Linked DNA regions of Homo sapiens: region 1 is linked to region 2. The links are contacts of gene promoters, found by promoter capture Hi-C in blood cells and fetal thymus (Javierre and others, 2016). All regions are on one chromosome and are shown on one strand. Each heading gives the region's core, a stretch centred on a gene start or on the middle of the fragment in contact. The rest is flanking DNA. Distances are from core to core; before and after follow the strand shown. Region 1 overlaps WBP4 (WW domain binding protein 4). Region 2 holds the start of NAA16 (N-alpha-acetyltransferase 16, NatA auxiliary subunit).

What was found. Contacts are between HindIII fragments. The CHiCAGO score rates a contact against its expected background, and 5 or more counts as called.
Region 1: a contact is called between a fragment that was not itself captured here and the fragment with the promoter of NAA16 in region 2, in 2 of 17 cell types (erythroblasts and megakaryocytes). The highest score is 6.5, in erythroblasts.

What each region holds. Positions count from the first base shown.
Region 1 is chr13:41,066,676-41,074,215 of GRCh38, forward strand. WBP4 (WW domain binding protein 4) reads left to right here. Exons shown (of 10, transcript NM_007187.5): 5 at 1,886-2,062; 6 at 4,852-4,898; 7 at 6,107-6,182. Among named protein-coding and RNA genes, the nearest start is that of WBP4, 8.9 kb to the left of the region's middle. The HindIII fragment of the contact is 2,147 bases long and covers 3,405-5,551 here.
Region 2 is chr13:41,309,091-41,316,693 of GRCh38, forward strand. It overlaps NAA16 (N-alpha-acetyltransferase 16, NatA auxiliary subunit), which reads left to right and starts at 2,177. Exons shown (of 20, transcript NM_024561.5): 1 at 2,177-2,492. The coding sequence starts at 2,439. It also overlaps a transcript of MTRF1 not described here. The HindIII fragment of the contact is 1,668 bases long and covers 1,806-3,473 here.

The DNA of each region.
Region 1 (7,540 bases), core at 3,228-5,727, 240 kb before region 2:
CTGTTATTTTGTCTCTGTACTATAATTTATTTAATCTTTTCCTGGTTAACATTTAGGTTGCTTAGCATTTTTCACTGTCGTAAAGAGTGCGGCATTAAGCATCTTTATGCATGTATCTTTTTACACTTATTTTTCTCTGTAGGTTCAGTTTCTGGAAGTTACAGTATAAAAGTGTGAATATATTTTATATTGATAGCTAATACCACATTGTCTCCAGAAATGGACTGATGTACATTTTCATTAGAACAAAAATAAGTTTATTAACCCGTTTTAGGAGTAACTAGCCAATCCTTTGGAAAGTAAAGCCATAAAAACTATTTTTCTCTTTTTTTGAAGACAGGTCTCGCTCTGTCACCTGGTTGGAGTGCAGTGGCAAAATCATGGCTCACTGTAGCCTCGACCTCCCGGGCTCCAGTGATCCTCCCACCTCAGCTCGTCACCAGTCCCAGCGATTTTTTGGTAGAGACGGGGTCTTGCCATGTTGCCCAGGCTGATCTGGAACTCCTGGCCTCAAGCAATCCACCTGCCTGGGCTTCCCAAAGTGCTGGGATTACAAGCGTGAGCCACTGTCCCCCACCAAAACTACCCATTTTTTCAAAGCAATGTAAATACCTGATCTATCAAACTAATACTGGATTTGGTCATTCTTTTCACTACTTATTGATCTTCTGCAAAACAACAACAAAACATTTCTTTGAATATTAGCAAAAGTAAATGTTAATTGGCCAGGTGCCGTGGCTCATGCCTGTAATCCCAGCAGTTTAGGAGGCCGGAGTGGGAGGATTGTTTGAGCCCAGGAGTTCAAGACCAACCTAGCAAGATGGTGAGACCCCACCTCTACTACAATATAAAAATAAAAAATTAACTGGGCTTGGTGGTGCGCACCTGTAGTCCCAGCTACTTGGGATGCTAAAGTGGGAGGATTGCTTGAGCTGAGAAGTTCAAGGCTACTAATGTGGGCTATGATTGCACCACTGCACTCCAGCCTGGACAACATAAGAGAAAAAAAAGTAAATGTTAATTATCTGAATTGTCTTTGTAATTGTTGTCCATTTTTCTATTAGAATGTTTGATTTGTAAAGGATCTTTGTTAGGAATATTAACCCTTTGCCATATTTATTGTAAATATTTTTTCATTTGTCTTATATATGTTTTTTCTTTTTATTTTTGTCATACAGAATATCTTAATTTTTATGTAGTCAAATTTAACATTATTTTACTTTGTGTTCTTTTTGTAACTATCTTTGACCTAGTATTTAATAAAAAGGGGGGAAGGGAGCAGGTAGTGGGGAACAGCTTTACTTTTTTCCCAAATAATTAATCAGTTAATCTAAAAACTTTCTTTTTAAGCATGCTTTCTTTATTTCCTTTTTTTAATATATATATAGATGTAGGGGGTACAAGTGCAGATTTCTCATATGCATATATTGCATAGTGATGGAATCTGGACTTTTAGTATACCCATTGCCCAAATAGTGAACGTTGTACCCAGTAGGTAATTTGAAAACCTCTTTTTTTAATGATCTGTCTTTTATCCTCTGATATGAAATACCAGCCAACCTGAAGTTGGCTCTGTATCTGGACTATTTTGTTTCAATTATATGCTTGCCTATTTCTATGTCAGTTCCACACTGCTGGCTGTTTTTTTAACCCATAGTTTTAGAATAAGTTTTAACACCTGGTAGAACTAAATTCTCCTTTTTCTTTTTATTACAGTTTTCCTTCCCTTACATGTTTATTTTTCCGAATGAACTTTATAATAATGTGTTAAGTTCTCAAAAGAACCTTATCAGGTTTTTGATTGGAATAACATTAATGTTTTATGCCAGCAACCATAAAAAATAGTAGTTACTATAGCTGCTTTACCCTTCTCTCATCTCTTTAGAAATTTTGGAGCCAAGCATAACACCAGTAACCAGCACTATCCCACCTACCTCGACATCAAATCAACAGAAAGAAAAGAAAGAAAAGAAGAAAAGAAAAAAAGATCCTTCAAAGGGCAGATGGGTAGAAGGCATAACCTCTGAGGGTTACCATTACTATTATGATCTTATCTCAGGAGGTAAGTCATTTAGGCATAAAACTGGTAAAGAACAGTGTCACTAGTAGAATAGAACAATTTATTTTATGTTAGGATTTTTATCTAATGTTGGAGCACTTTAAATAGTGAAAGACCGGTTTTTCATTTTTGCCCCAAAGGTAAGAAAACTGTGTGCCCTTTAAAAAGGTACCCTTCTCATAGTGACTAAGTGTCATACTTAGTCAAAGCCTTTGATAATGACTTTCTTACAAATAAACTATAGCTTTATATTTTCTCAATAGAAACTTCTGTAAGTATAAACTACATGGAAATAAAGAATTTTGCATAGAAATAAGGAATTTCAAATCCACTTCACAAATTGTAGGGGTACTTGAAATAAAATATTCTACAGTAGAGATTTTCTTCTGGGAGCCAGTAACTGATTTCTTTTTTCTGTAGCTGCCTTGATTGATTTGATATTGTTACTGAAAAATGACATTGTGTATTTTACTGGAAACTGATACCCAACAGAAAAATACACAGTGCCATGGCCAGATGCAGTGGCTCATGCCTGTAATCCTAGCACTTTTGAGGGGCCGAGGAGGGTAGATCACTTGAGGTCAGGAGTTCAAGACCAGCCTGACCAACATGGTGAAACCCCATCTGTACTAAAAATACAAAATTAGGCTAGGCGCGGTGGCTCACACCTGTAATCCCAGCACTTTGGGAGGCTGAGATGGGCAGATCACAAGGTCAGGAGATCAAAACCATCCTAGCTAACATGGTGAAACCCCGTCTCTACTGAAAAAACAAAAAATTAGCCAGGCATGATGGTGGGCACCTGTAGTCCCAGCTACTTGGGAGGCTGAGGCAGGAGAATGGCGTGAACCCAGGAGGCGGAGCTTGCAGTGAGCCGAGATTGGGCCACTGAACCCAGGAAGCGGAGCTTGCGGTGAGCGTAGATTGGGCCACTGTACTCCAGCCTGGGCGACAGAGCGAGACTCTGCCTCAAAAAAAAAAAAAAAAAAAAAAAGTAGCCAAGCGAGGTGGCTCATGCCTGTAATCCCAGCTACCTGGGAGGCTGAGGCAGGAGAATCAATTGAACCCAGGAGATGGAGTTTGCAGTGAGCCCAGATCGCGCCATTTCACTCCTGCCTGGGCAACAAGAGCGAAAGTCCATCTCAAAAAAAAAAAAAAGAAAAAAAAAATACACAGTGTCGTTTTACAGTAACAATATCAAAAACATCTTTTTTTGTTTTTCCTAAAAACTAAATGTATTTGGGGTTTTTACTCCGTATACATTTTGGAATAAATTAATACATTTATTCTACATTTATGTAGCATCTTACTCTCCAGAGTCATAAAATTTAGCGACAAATAAATAAGCTTGATAAAAGGAGGAATTTTAAAGTGCTATAATAGAAGTGTAATTAAGATTATATGGGAACTCATAATAATGTTGAATTCATTGTGATTATGTAGCTTTGAGAGATTACCATAGGAATTACTTTTGAGCTGATCTCTAAATTAAGATAGGGACATCAGGAATGATGCCTTACTCACCATTGTATTCCTGGCGCCTAACATAGTGCCTAGCACAGTGTAGACACTCTGTGTTTTGATTAAAGAAGACTTCAGTAGATAATTAAGAGGTACAGAATCCACACAGAACAATATGAACCCCAAAAAAGGTTTGAAAGTATTGGGAAATAGTGGTCGAGGTAAAACATGCAGTTCTTTGAAGACGTCTTAGTAGAGTTAGACTGGAAGGTAGATTGGAGCCATCTTATGGAGGGCTGAGAGAATGATGGTGCCATTTACTTAGATACGAGATAAGGAACTGAAAATAAGTTTAATGGGGACAATAATGAATTAGATACGTTGAATATGAGGTACCTACAGAATATTCATATGACAGCTTTTGGTAGCTAATTGATGGTTACAGTGTGGAGCTGAGCAAAATTGAGTCTGGGGATGTAGATAATATGTTAGCCTTTAGGAGTATATGAGATCGCAAGCAGAGAGAATAGAGCAAGAAGTAAAGAAGGTGAGTGTTACATATATTAAAGGAATGGATAGAAGAAAAGCCAGCAAAAGAAGGTTAAGAATGCTAGGAAGGTAGGAAATAAGATCAGAGAGTTAATCATGAAGAAATCCTTGGGCTAACAATCTTACTGTAATGACTATTATCATTAGGATCATAATTACCTTTGGACTATGTAGAAATATTAATCCGTTAGAGTTTGCACTGAGCTTTAAGTGACATGCATATTGTAGTTTAGCAATGAAGATATCATAAATGATTATGTACTAGCAATTAGAAGTCTTTCTCAAATTTACTTATAAACTGTTATTTCATTTCTCCCTTCCAATGCTTATTGCTTGCCTCTCTTTTTCAGCATCCTACTTTATATACTCTTCCTCTCCATGATACATGTTTTTAATTTCTGCATACTAGTTGTTCCTCTTCTGAGTTCTTATTCAGTTTATCTCTCACTCTCCCTTGCCCCAAGATATCAAAAGGCCTTTGAAACTTATCAGACCTGAATTCTGTGAAACCTTTATGAGAAGCCCTGCCTGGCTCTAAAATTCCTGTGGAAGTTCCAGTAACTTCTAATCCCTCGTTCTGTCCTTTCTTCTTGGTTACGTAGCATTCACATATATTGTCTGCACAGTACTGGGATGTATGTTCTGTTTTATTTTTCAAATATGTTTTAAATTGTAGACCTGTAGTGTTTTGTACATAATGACTGTAAATTTTGTCCAAATTTTTTGGAAAGTATTTTTTTAAAGCAAAAAGATTTTATAAATGCAATATATTTTGCTTTAAGCATCTCAGTGGGAGAAACCTGAAGGATTTCAAGGAGACTTAAAAAAGGTAATTGAAGCATATTAATAGTGTTTTTGTTTTATTCTTTACAGTGATTCGTTTCTTAGGTTTTTGTAGAGTTTTGCTAAGCAACTTTATTTACAAATACTCCACTCCCTCCACCCCCAAACTGTGTCCTTTTTTTTCCCATAATGCTTTTGTTAGAAGGCTGGATGGAGATGAAATAGTGATATCTGGCTGGGTGCAGTGGCTCATGCCTGTAATCCCAGCACTTTGGGAGGCTGAGGCATGTGGATCACAAGGTCAGGAGTTAAAGACCAGCCTGGCCAAGATGGTGAAACCCTATCTCTCCTAAAAACTACAAAAAAATTAGCCAGGCGCAGTCGCAGTTGCCTGTAATCCCAGCTACTCAGGAGGCTGAGTCAGGGGAATCACTGGGACCTGGGGCGGCAGAGGTTAACAGTGAGCCGAGATTGCACCACCGCACTCCAGCCTGGATAACAAAGTAAGACTCCGTCTCAAAAAAAAAAAAAAAAAAAAAAGTACTGATATCTATCCAAAAACTGCATTCAGGGCAAATATTAGTTGGTTTGCCGTCAGTTGCCATTCACATGTTCCTGTCCATTTGGAAGGAATTGTTCCTGGCTTTCAAAGGTGAGACATCCACTGCTTGAAAGTTGGTTCTTTATTAGCAAAAACCAAGCTTCCTGGCCATGATTAGTACTACCACCCCTAATACCCAGGTGTATTAGTCAGTTCTTGCATTGCTATAAAGAAATACTTCTGAAACTAGGTAATTTATCAAGAAAAGAGGTTTAATTGACTCACAGTTATGCAGGCTGTACAGGAAGCATGGTGGCATGAGCTTCTGGAGAGGCTTCAGGAAACTTACAATCATAGCAGAAGGCCAAGGGAAAACAGTCACATCTTACATGGCCAGACCAGGAGCAAAGGGAGGTGCCACACACTTTTCAATGACCAGATCTCAGGGTAGCTTGCTCACTATTTCAACAACAGCACCAAAGGTGGATGGTGTTGAAACCATGAGAAACCACCCCTGTGATGCAGTCACCTCCCACAAGGCCCCATCTCCAACTTGGAGGATTACAAGTCTACATGAGATTTGGGTGGGGATGCAGATCGAGATGATATCACCAGGTGTCAGGAGGAGAGGCAAGGGTGGCTGACTGTCTGAGTTATTCAATAGAAAATCATGGTTATCCTTAGTTTATGCTGGGTTTTTTTCCTCCTATTAGACAGCAGTGAAGACCGTTTGGGTAGAAGGTTTAAGTGAAGATGGTTTTACCTATTACTATAATACAGAAACAGGAGGTAAGTATTACCTTTGATTATCTTAACTGTTTAAAATTGTACCTGGAACTGCTTATTGGCCTGCTGATTAATCATCTGAACTTGGAAATTTTAGTATACAATAAACATATTTGTGTAGTAAACATGAATTATTTTTTGTAATTTAAAAACAATACAGTGGAAAAGCAAAAAGATTTATATTCGTATTATGTTGTGCTGTTCACCAATGTTATTCTCAGTTGATATTGCATTCACAAACTTAAAAATAGAATCATTTTAGCTTTCTCTGACATTACTATTTTTATAATTATTTTAGAAATATAGTCATTACCTTGGAAGGTAGCTTAGAGATCATCTGGCTCAACTTGCCTTTTCCTTTTTAAAAATAAAACTGTGGCCGGGCACAGTGGCACATGCCTGTAATCCCAGCAGTTTGGGAGGCCAAGACAGGTGGATCACCTGAGGTCAGGAGTTAAGCGACCAACCTGACCAACATGGTGAAACCCTGTCTCTGTTAAATACAAACAAATTAGCCGGGTGTGGTGGCACATGCCTGTAATCCAAGCTACTTGGGAGGCTGAGACAGGAGAATCTTGTACCTGGGAGGCGGAGGTTGCAGTGACCCGAGATCGTGCCATTGCACTCCAGCCTGGGCAACAAGAGCAAAACTCTGTCTCAAAAAAAAAAAAAAAAGTAGGCTAGGCGCGGTGGCTCACGCCTGTAATCTCAGCAGTTTGGAAGGCCAAGGCGGGCAGATCATCTGAGGTCAGGAGTTCGAGACCAGCCTGACCAACATGGTGAAACCCCTTCTCTACTAAAAAATTACCCGGGCGTGGTGGTGGGCACCTGTAGTCCCAGCTACTCAGGAGGCTGAGGCAGAGAATCACTTGAACCCAGGAGGTAGAGGTTGCAGTGAGCCAAGATCGCACCACTGCACTCCAGTCTGGGCGACAGAGCAAGACTGTCTCAAAATAAAATAAAAAATAAAACTGAAGCTATTTAGTAGTGTCTAACAAATTAGTAAAAGTGAAAATTTAACAATGTTTCAGTTGCATAAATACTTACGAAGCATGCATAAATACTAATTGTTATCTAAAACTTTTTTTTTTTTTTTGAGACGGAGTCTTGCTATCGTCCAGGCTGGAGTGCAGTGGCACAATCTCGGCTCACTGCAGGCTCTGCCCCCTGGGGTTCATGCCATTCTCCTGCCTCAGCCTCCCAAGTAGCTGGGACTACAGGCACCAGCCACTTCGCCAGGCTAATTTTTTGTATTTTTAGTAGAGACGGGGTTTCACCATGTTAGTCAGGATGGTCTCGATCTCCTGACCTCGTGATCCGCCCGCCTCGGCCTCCCAAAGTGCTGGGATTACAGGCGTGAG
Region 2 (7,603 bases), core at 927-3,426:
GTACCACATTTTCTTTATCCAGTCCACCGATGGGCATCTAGGTTACTTCCATGTCTTTTTATTGTGAATAGTGCTGCGATGAACATACACGTGCATGTGTCCTTTTTTTTTTTGAGGCAGTTTGTTGCCCAGGCTGGAGTGCAGTGGCATGATCTTGGCTCACTGCAACCTGTCTCCCAGGCTCAATTGATCCTCGCACCTCAGCATCCCAAGTAGCTGGGACTACAGGCACTCGCCACTATGCCCAGCTAGTGTGTGTGTGTGTGTGTGTGTGTGTGTGTGTGTGTGTGTGTTTGCCATGTTGCCCCGGCTGGTCTCCAACTCCTGAGCTCAGGGTGATCCGCCTGCCTCAGCCGCCCAAAGTGCTGGGATTACAGGCGTGAGTCACTGCACCTGGCTGTGCATGTGTCTTTACGGTAGAACAATTTATATTCTTTTGGGTATATACCCAGCAATGGGATTGCTGTGGACCCCCAATTTTAATGACAGTACTTTCCCTATTTTAAAGGACTCCTATGATGCTTTAAAATCATGTGTGAAACGTAGGAGATTGAAAGAAAAAAAAAGACTCCTATGATTCTTTCATGTCCAACCAACTTAGGCTAGAAAGAAGGAAAATCAAATAGGCAGGCACTGTGGCTCACACCTGTAATCCCAGCACTTTGGAAGGCCGAGGTGGGCAGATCACCTGAGGTCGGGAGTTTGAGACCAGCCTGACCAACATGGAGAAACCCCGTCTCTACTAAAAATACTAAATTAGCCAGGTGTGGTGGTGCATGCCTGTCATCCCTGCTACTTGGGAGGCTGAGGCAGGAGAATCGCTTGAACCTGGGAGGCGGAGGTTACAGGGAGCTGAGATAGCGCCATTGCATTCCAGCCTCGGCAACAAGAACAAAACATCGTCTCAAAAAAAGGAAAATAAAAAAGGGCAGCCCAGTTCTGATTACAGCCGACTAAATGCAGTTACTCATCAATTACTTTATAGTCTCAGAAATATGCACCCATTAAGATTCAGCACATGTATAAATAAACTTATGTACCTAATGTTTACACACACCTTACTACTAACCCTACACTGAATGTATGGTTTATTCTTGCCACTGTTGTATCTTTCTAGACTCACACATTACCATCAATATGCTGCCTTTTATTTGTTGTAGAGAGTATCCCAGAGTTGGAAGATCCTGAATTTGAAGCCTGTTTCTCCCATTATTATATGGCTTTCAGGAAGGGGAACCATCTGAAGAGAAAGGGTAGGTAGACTCAGAAGACCAGTGGCCTTATAAAACCGTAATTCCGGCCAGGTGTGGTGGCTCACGCCTGTAATCCCAGCACTTTCGGAGGTTGACGCGGGGGCGGATCACGAGGTCAAGAGATCAAGACCATCCTGGCCAACATGGTGAAAGCCTGTCTCTACTAAAAATACAAAATTAGCCGGGTGTGGTGGCGCATGCCTGTAATCCCAGCCACTCGGGAGGCTGAGGCAGGAGAATCCTTTGAACTCAGGAGGCGGAGGTTGCAGTGAGCCCAGATAGCGCCACTGCACTGCAGCCTGGGCGACAAGAGCGATACTCCATCTCAAAACCAACCAACCAAACAAAAACAAAGATTGTAAATGTTTGTTTGGTTTGCCCTGGAAAGAGAAGGCTTCTACTTAGAGTCTGAATCAAGGAGGAAAAGGAAAGAAAACAAGTTCATCTTTCATCAAAAGTCTACTTTGCATCGGACACTTAAATTCCTAAATGGGGAGAAATGCAAAAAACTCTGACTCTTCAGAGTCATAACTAACATTATCTTGCGCCACAAGCTTATCAAGAGTGCAATACAAGTCAGTGTCTTCTCTTTTCTACTTAAAAGAAAATTCTCGTTTTTATTTATTACTTTATTGCAAGGAGAAGCAGACAATAAGTAGGAGTCTTATGAGGCGTTCTGATGCATAGGAGCAATGGTGAATGAGGGTGGTGACTCACCACCCCATGGGACTCCAAGGTTTTGGTGACAGCTCGCCTGAGCCCCAGGGGGTGCCGAGATTGCGGCGAGGAGAGCCGCAGCACAAGGCAAATCCACGCGGTTGGTCCCCGCTACGCCCCCGTAGTCACCCGCAGCCCCTCGCCAAAGGGCGCTCCGCGCATGCGCACAGGATCCGGCTCGGGAGGCGGACCCTGGCTGCCATCTTGCAGTGCGCGGGAACCGCCGCCGCCGCCGCTGGCCAAAAAGCGGAGCCCAGGGGAAGCGTGTCCTGCTCAGACCGCCTTCCTTCTCCATTGCCACCCGTGCCGAACAGCCAGGCTGCCCAATTGCAACTGTAGACCAATGAACTAATCCATCGCCCGCAGCCCGACTCTCAGCAGCGGTTCGTCCCGGTGCCCACCCCCGCGAAGCGGAGCGCCCGGGCACCTAGCCTCCCTGCCGGCCACCTAGCCTCCCTGCCGGCCACGATGCCGAACGTGCTGCTGCCGCCCAAGGAGAGCAACCTCTTCAAACGCATCTTGGTGAGTGGCCGTAGGCCGCGCTGCCGCCCCCCGGTCCCCGGGTCCTCGGGCCTTAAGGGCAAGCGGTCTGGCGGCGGCCGGCGCGGGCCAGGCTTGGCCTCCGCTGCCCACCGCTCTTTGTTTACCTCGGAGGTCGCGGGACCCCACTTTCCCGCTCCGGCCGGCCCACGGGGGCTGCCGAGCCGCTCCTCCGTGCGCTTCCTTTCCGCGGTCTTCTGCGGCTCGCCTCACCCCCGCCGCGCTCTTTCCAGAAACTTCACGCCGCTCTCCGCAGTGCCCGGGCACAGCCGCCTCGGCCGGTAGTGGCTGCCGTGCTCTCTGCCGCGCCGGGCTCGCAGCAGCCCCTCAGGGATCCTCCCCCGGTGGTTTATTTTGCCAGTCTCTCCTCGGCTAGGTGTTTTGCGTTCTGCATTCTCTGCTTTGCGTTTAGTTAGATTGCACAGCACACCCGCATACCTATTAAAGCGGGATCGATGCGATGGTGGAATTTTTCCTGGTTACGAGGAAATAAAACCGGCAACTTTAGGAAGCCAGGCCTGGCACCACCTCCCTTTGGGAAAAAGTTTGCCTGTTTGTAATGTACCTTATTTACCTCTTTGGAAGTGAATATTTGACTTGAAGTGCGTTTCTGAGTTGTCACCAACTTCAAAACAGCTGTTTGCTTTTTAGTCGCACAGGCCTTGCTTGAGTAATTAAAGCCGCGTGGACTGGCTGGTTTTGCATTTGAGGGGAGCATTTTTACTTTATCGCGGAGCAGAAGCCTGAATAATGGCCCCGTAGTGATGACCGCTGCGGAGCCGGGTGGGCAGTTTTCTGTGGGCTGTGTGCCAGCGTCCCTGGTAGCTTTCCAGGTTCTGTTCTTCCAAGGAGAAGAGGCAGCATTCCTTTGCTTTCCTCAGTATCCTCTGGCTACCCTAGGTTTTAAACTAATATTGTTAGTAGGTAACTGTCTTTTCTAGTTTATCTTTTCACCTGAAAAAAAGCTTTTATTTGCTAAACATGCATTTAGGTTTAAAGGTGAATTTATTGAAAGCTGGGTTGGCTATATGGCTGTTAGTTGTTGCTTAACTTTACTATAAATAAAATACTAATTTTAGAGTAATTTTAAGTATGAACAGCGGCAGATAATTCATAGTAGCTGTTCTGTTTCAAGACGATAGAAACTTCACACTTAGTCTTCAGATTAGGATACATAGTAGATGGGATAAAAATTTTAAATATTATGTGGTGCTTAGTTTTGAACCAATAATAAGATACAAATGTGAGAACATTAAAAATACGAATAATTAAAGCACGTGGCAGGTTGCTTCATTGGGCTTTGTATTTTTTTATTTTACTTCTCATGCCCTTTTATTTTACACAGCATGGAATTGGAGAAGTAATTTATTTATTTTTATTTTTAATTTTTTTTTGCCCTGGGAATCTGAAACATTAATGATAATATCATTTATAAATCGCTAGTTGGATTTCAGGACATTTGGCATCATACTTTAAAGATGACAGCACTTCTTTTCTCTTTATACGAGTTTTTTGTAGTTCAAATCATGGATCAGTGTCATAAGGAAAAAGTTACATTATTATTCTTAAATTACAAAAAAGGTAGGGTTTATCCCCAAATAAATTGGGAAATGGTAACCACTAAAAAAAAATCAATTATTTTGAGATGGAAGTCTCGGTTTGTTGGCCAGGCTACTGTCGAATTCCTGGCTTGAAGCGATCTTCCCACCTCAGCCTCCCAAATTGCTGGGATTACAGATGTGAGCTACTGTGCTCAGCCAAGCTAAACATTTTTAAATCTAGGTATGTAATGTTTCTGACAAGGTTGCGTGAATTTAGGAGGATTCTGCATAAACGAATGATTTTATCATTTCACAATTGCAATAAATGTGGGTAAAATTTGGCTACAACAAATTCCATAGCAAACAGAAGTCTCTGTAATAAAATTATCTTTAAAGTTTAGTGGATTAAAGTGCTTTGCCACCAACAGTAAAATTTTTTCTATTGAAAAAATTCAAACACATCCACACAAACTGACCAGCTGGTTTTTTACGTGTTCCACGTGGCTTGTATCTGCATGTCTTATTCCCCAGACTGGATATTAATTAGCATTACAGTTTGTTGAATTTTGGAGGTATTCCATGCCCTCTTTTAGAAAGAGACAAACCTAAAGATGGTAAATGACCAAGTGGCTAAGGTTCTCTGTCTGGTTAGTAGCAAAGTTGAGACTAGAATCTATCATTTCTGCTTAGTATATAATGGTTCCTGAGTGAATGTAGATTTGTCTTTTTTTTTTTTTTGCGAGAGTGTATCGCTTTGTCGCCCAGGCTGGAGTGCAGTGGCAAGATCTCACTGCAACCTCTGCCTCCCAGATTCAAGCGATTCTCGTGCCTCAGCCTCCTGAGTAGCTGAGATTACAGGTTGACTTGTCTTTACCCGAGTACTTGGACTCTGGGGACAGACTACCTGGTTAAGAGTTGTGGCTCTGGCACTTAATAGTTATATAAACTCTATAACTATGCCTCAGTTTCTCTATCTAAATGGGGATATCATGCATCTCATAGGCTTTCCTGGGATTTAAATAAAGAGTAAATAAGCTGTCATGGGATGAAGGAAAAAAATAACAGTGTCTGGACGTATAGTAAATGCTTCCAATAGGTGTTAACTATTATTACTGTTATTGGCAGTATGATTATTATTATTTTCAGATAACCTGGTAAGTCAGAAAAACTAGTATTTCTATTTGTCTTTCTCAGTAGTTCCTTTCTCTTGTTTTTTTCTTGTCATTTGTGAGACAGACTTGTAGTCAAACTCAGATTGTCATTTTTTATTTTAAAATATTTTTGGAATAGGCAGTATATTCACATGGTTCAAAATTTAGGTTTCTCTCCTATCCTTATCGCAGAATCACCTAGTTCCCTTCCCCAGAGGCTGTCAAGAGGCCTCAATATAAACTTTTTTTCCATGAAGACTTTTCTAATTCCTTCCACATCCAGCCCCTGCTGCAAGGCTTAAAGATGGTCTCATCCATTGCTAGTGGCATTTTGCTTTGAACTTAGTAGGCTGTATTTATGGAGCAGTTTCTTATTTGTTTAGCCATGGCAATGCAGCAGTATGTAAAATAGGCTAAGGCCGGCGCAGTGGCTCATGCCTGTAATCCCAGCACTTTGGGAGGCTGAGGTGGGAGCTAGGATCACTTGAGCCCAGGAGCAAAAGACCAACATAGTGAGACTTCATCTCTACCAAAAATAAAAAAATAAAAAAAAATTTAGCCAGGCATGATGGCACACACCTGTAGTCCTTCCTATCCACTCAGGAGGCTAAGGTGGGAAGATCACTTGAGCTCAGCAGTTTGAGGTTATGGTGATTGTGTCACTGCACACCAGCTTGGGCAACAGAGTGAGACTGTCTCTAAAAAATAAATAAGAAAGATAGGTGAGATCATTGTTCTAAGGATCCATTATATGATGGTGGGGAAGACAGACACTAAATAATAGCATAAATAAGATTTCAGGAAATGATAGCACTGTGTGGAAAATAGAGTAACATGGTAGAGAATATGTTGGGGAAGGAAGGAGGATGGGAGTATTTGATAAAGTGGGCAAGTAGGGGACATGTGAGACTTGGATAATGAGGAACCATCCATGGGAAGATCTAGGAAAGCAATTCAGGCAGAAGGAACACAAGTGTAGGAGGCCTGAGGTGGGGATAAGCTTGGCATGTTGAGTAATTTAACACCCAGTGTGACTGAACAATGTAAGCCAGGGAAGAGTGGAAAGCAATGGGGTGTTCTTCGCATCAGTGGCTGCCAGGGAGAGATGTTAATTGTGTACCCTGGCTGGTGGCATTCGGAAATAAAGATGTTGCTTATCCTTGCATTGGACTAATGATGGTCTTTGGAGTAAGATCAGAGTTTGCAGCTAAGCTGAGCAGCTTATAAACAAGTTTTTGAACCTCTGGAGTTTCAGTTTCCACATCTCTGAAGTGGAAGTAATGACACCTACATTAAAGAATTGGTATTAAGTAAGAGATTACAAATTTTTTACAGACATATCATAGCTGCTCAATAAGTGGTAGTATTTGTGTGTGTGTGTGTATGCGTGCACACACCCATGCACTTTGGTTTCATTCTTGCGGTAGCAAAGGCTTTTAGTGCAGTTTCTGGTATTTTTCTGTTGCCACATATGTTTTTGCTTAAATTTTTTTTTTGAGATGGTGTCTTGCTCTACTGCCCAGGCTGAGTGCAGTGGCACAGTCATGCCTTACTGCAGCCTCAGCCTCGTGGGCTCAAGTGATCCTCCCACCTCAGCCTCCCAAGCAGTTAGGACCACAGATGTGCACCACCACGCCTGAGGAATTTTTAATTTTTTTGTAGAGATGAGATCTTGCTTTATTCCCCAGGCTGGTCTTGAACTTCTGGGCTCAAGCAGTCCTCTCGCCTTGGCCTCCCAAAGCATTGGAATTATTTTGAATTAAAAAATTCTGTGTACTAGGAAAGGGAAACAAAATAAAAAATTCTGTGGCAGTATTGATTGGTGAATTGTCATTTTTTTCTGTTTGTTTGTTTTGAGACAGGGTCTCATTCAGTCGCCCAGGCTGGAGTGCAGTGGCATGATCTCGGCTCACTGCAGCTTCCAGCTCCTGGGTTCAGGTGATTCTCCTGCCTCAGCCACCCAAGTAGCTGGGATTACAGGCATGCGCCACCACGTCTGGCTAATTTTTGTAATTTTTTTTTTTTTTTTTTTGAGACAGAGTCTCGCTCTGTTTCCCAGGCTGGAGTGCAGTGGTGTGATCTCTGCTCACTGCAACCTCTGCCTCCTGCGTTCAAGCGATTCTCCTGCCTAAGCCTCCTGAGTAGCTGGGATTACAGGCACGCACCACCACACCCAGCTAATTTTTGTATTTTTAGTAGAGACGGTTTCACCATGTTGGCCAGGTTGGTCTCGAACTCCTGAGCTCAAGCGATCCGCCCACCTTTGCCTCCCAAAGTGCTGGAATTACAAGCGTGAGCCACCTTGCTGAGCCACATTTCCTGTTTTTTAAATGTCTTTTTTCATGGTCTTTTATAAAAATGAAAATATGTAGATTTTAGAACAATTTGACAAGAATAGGTA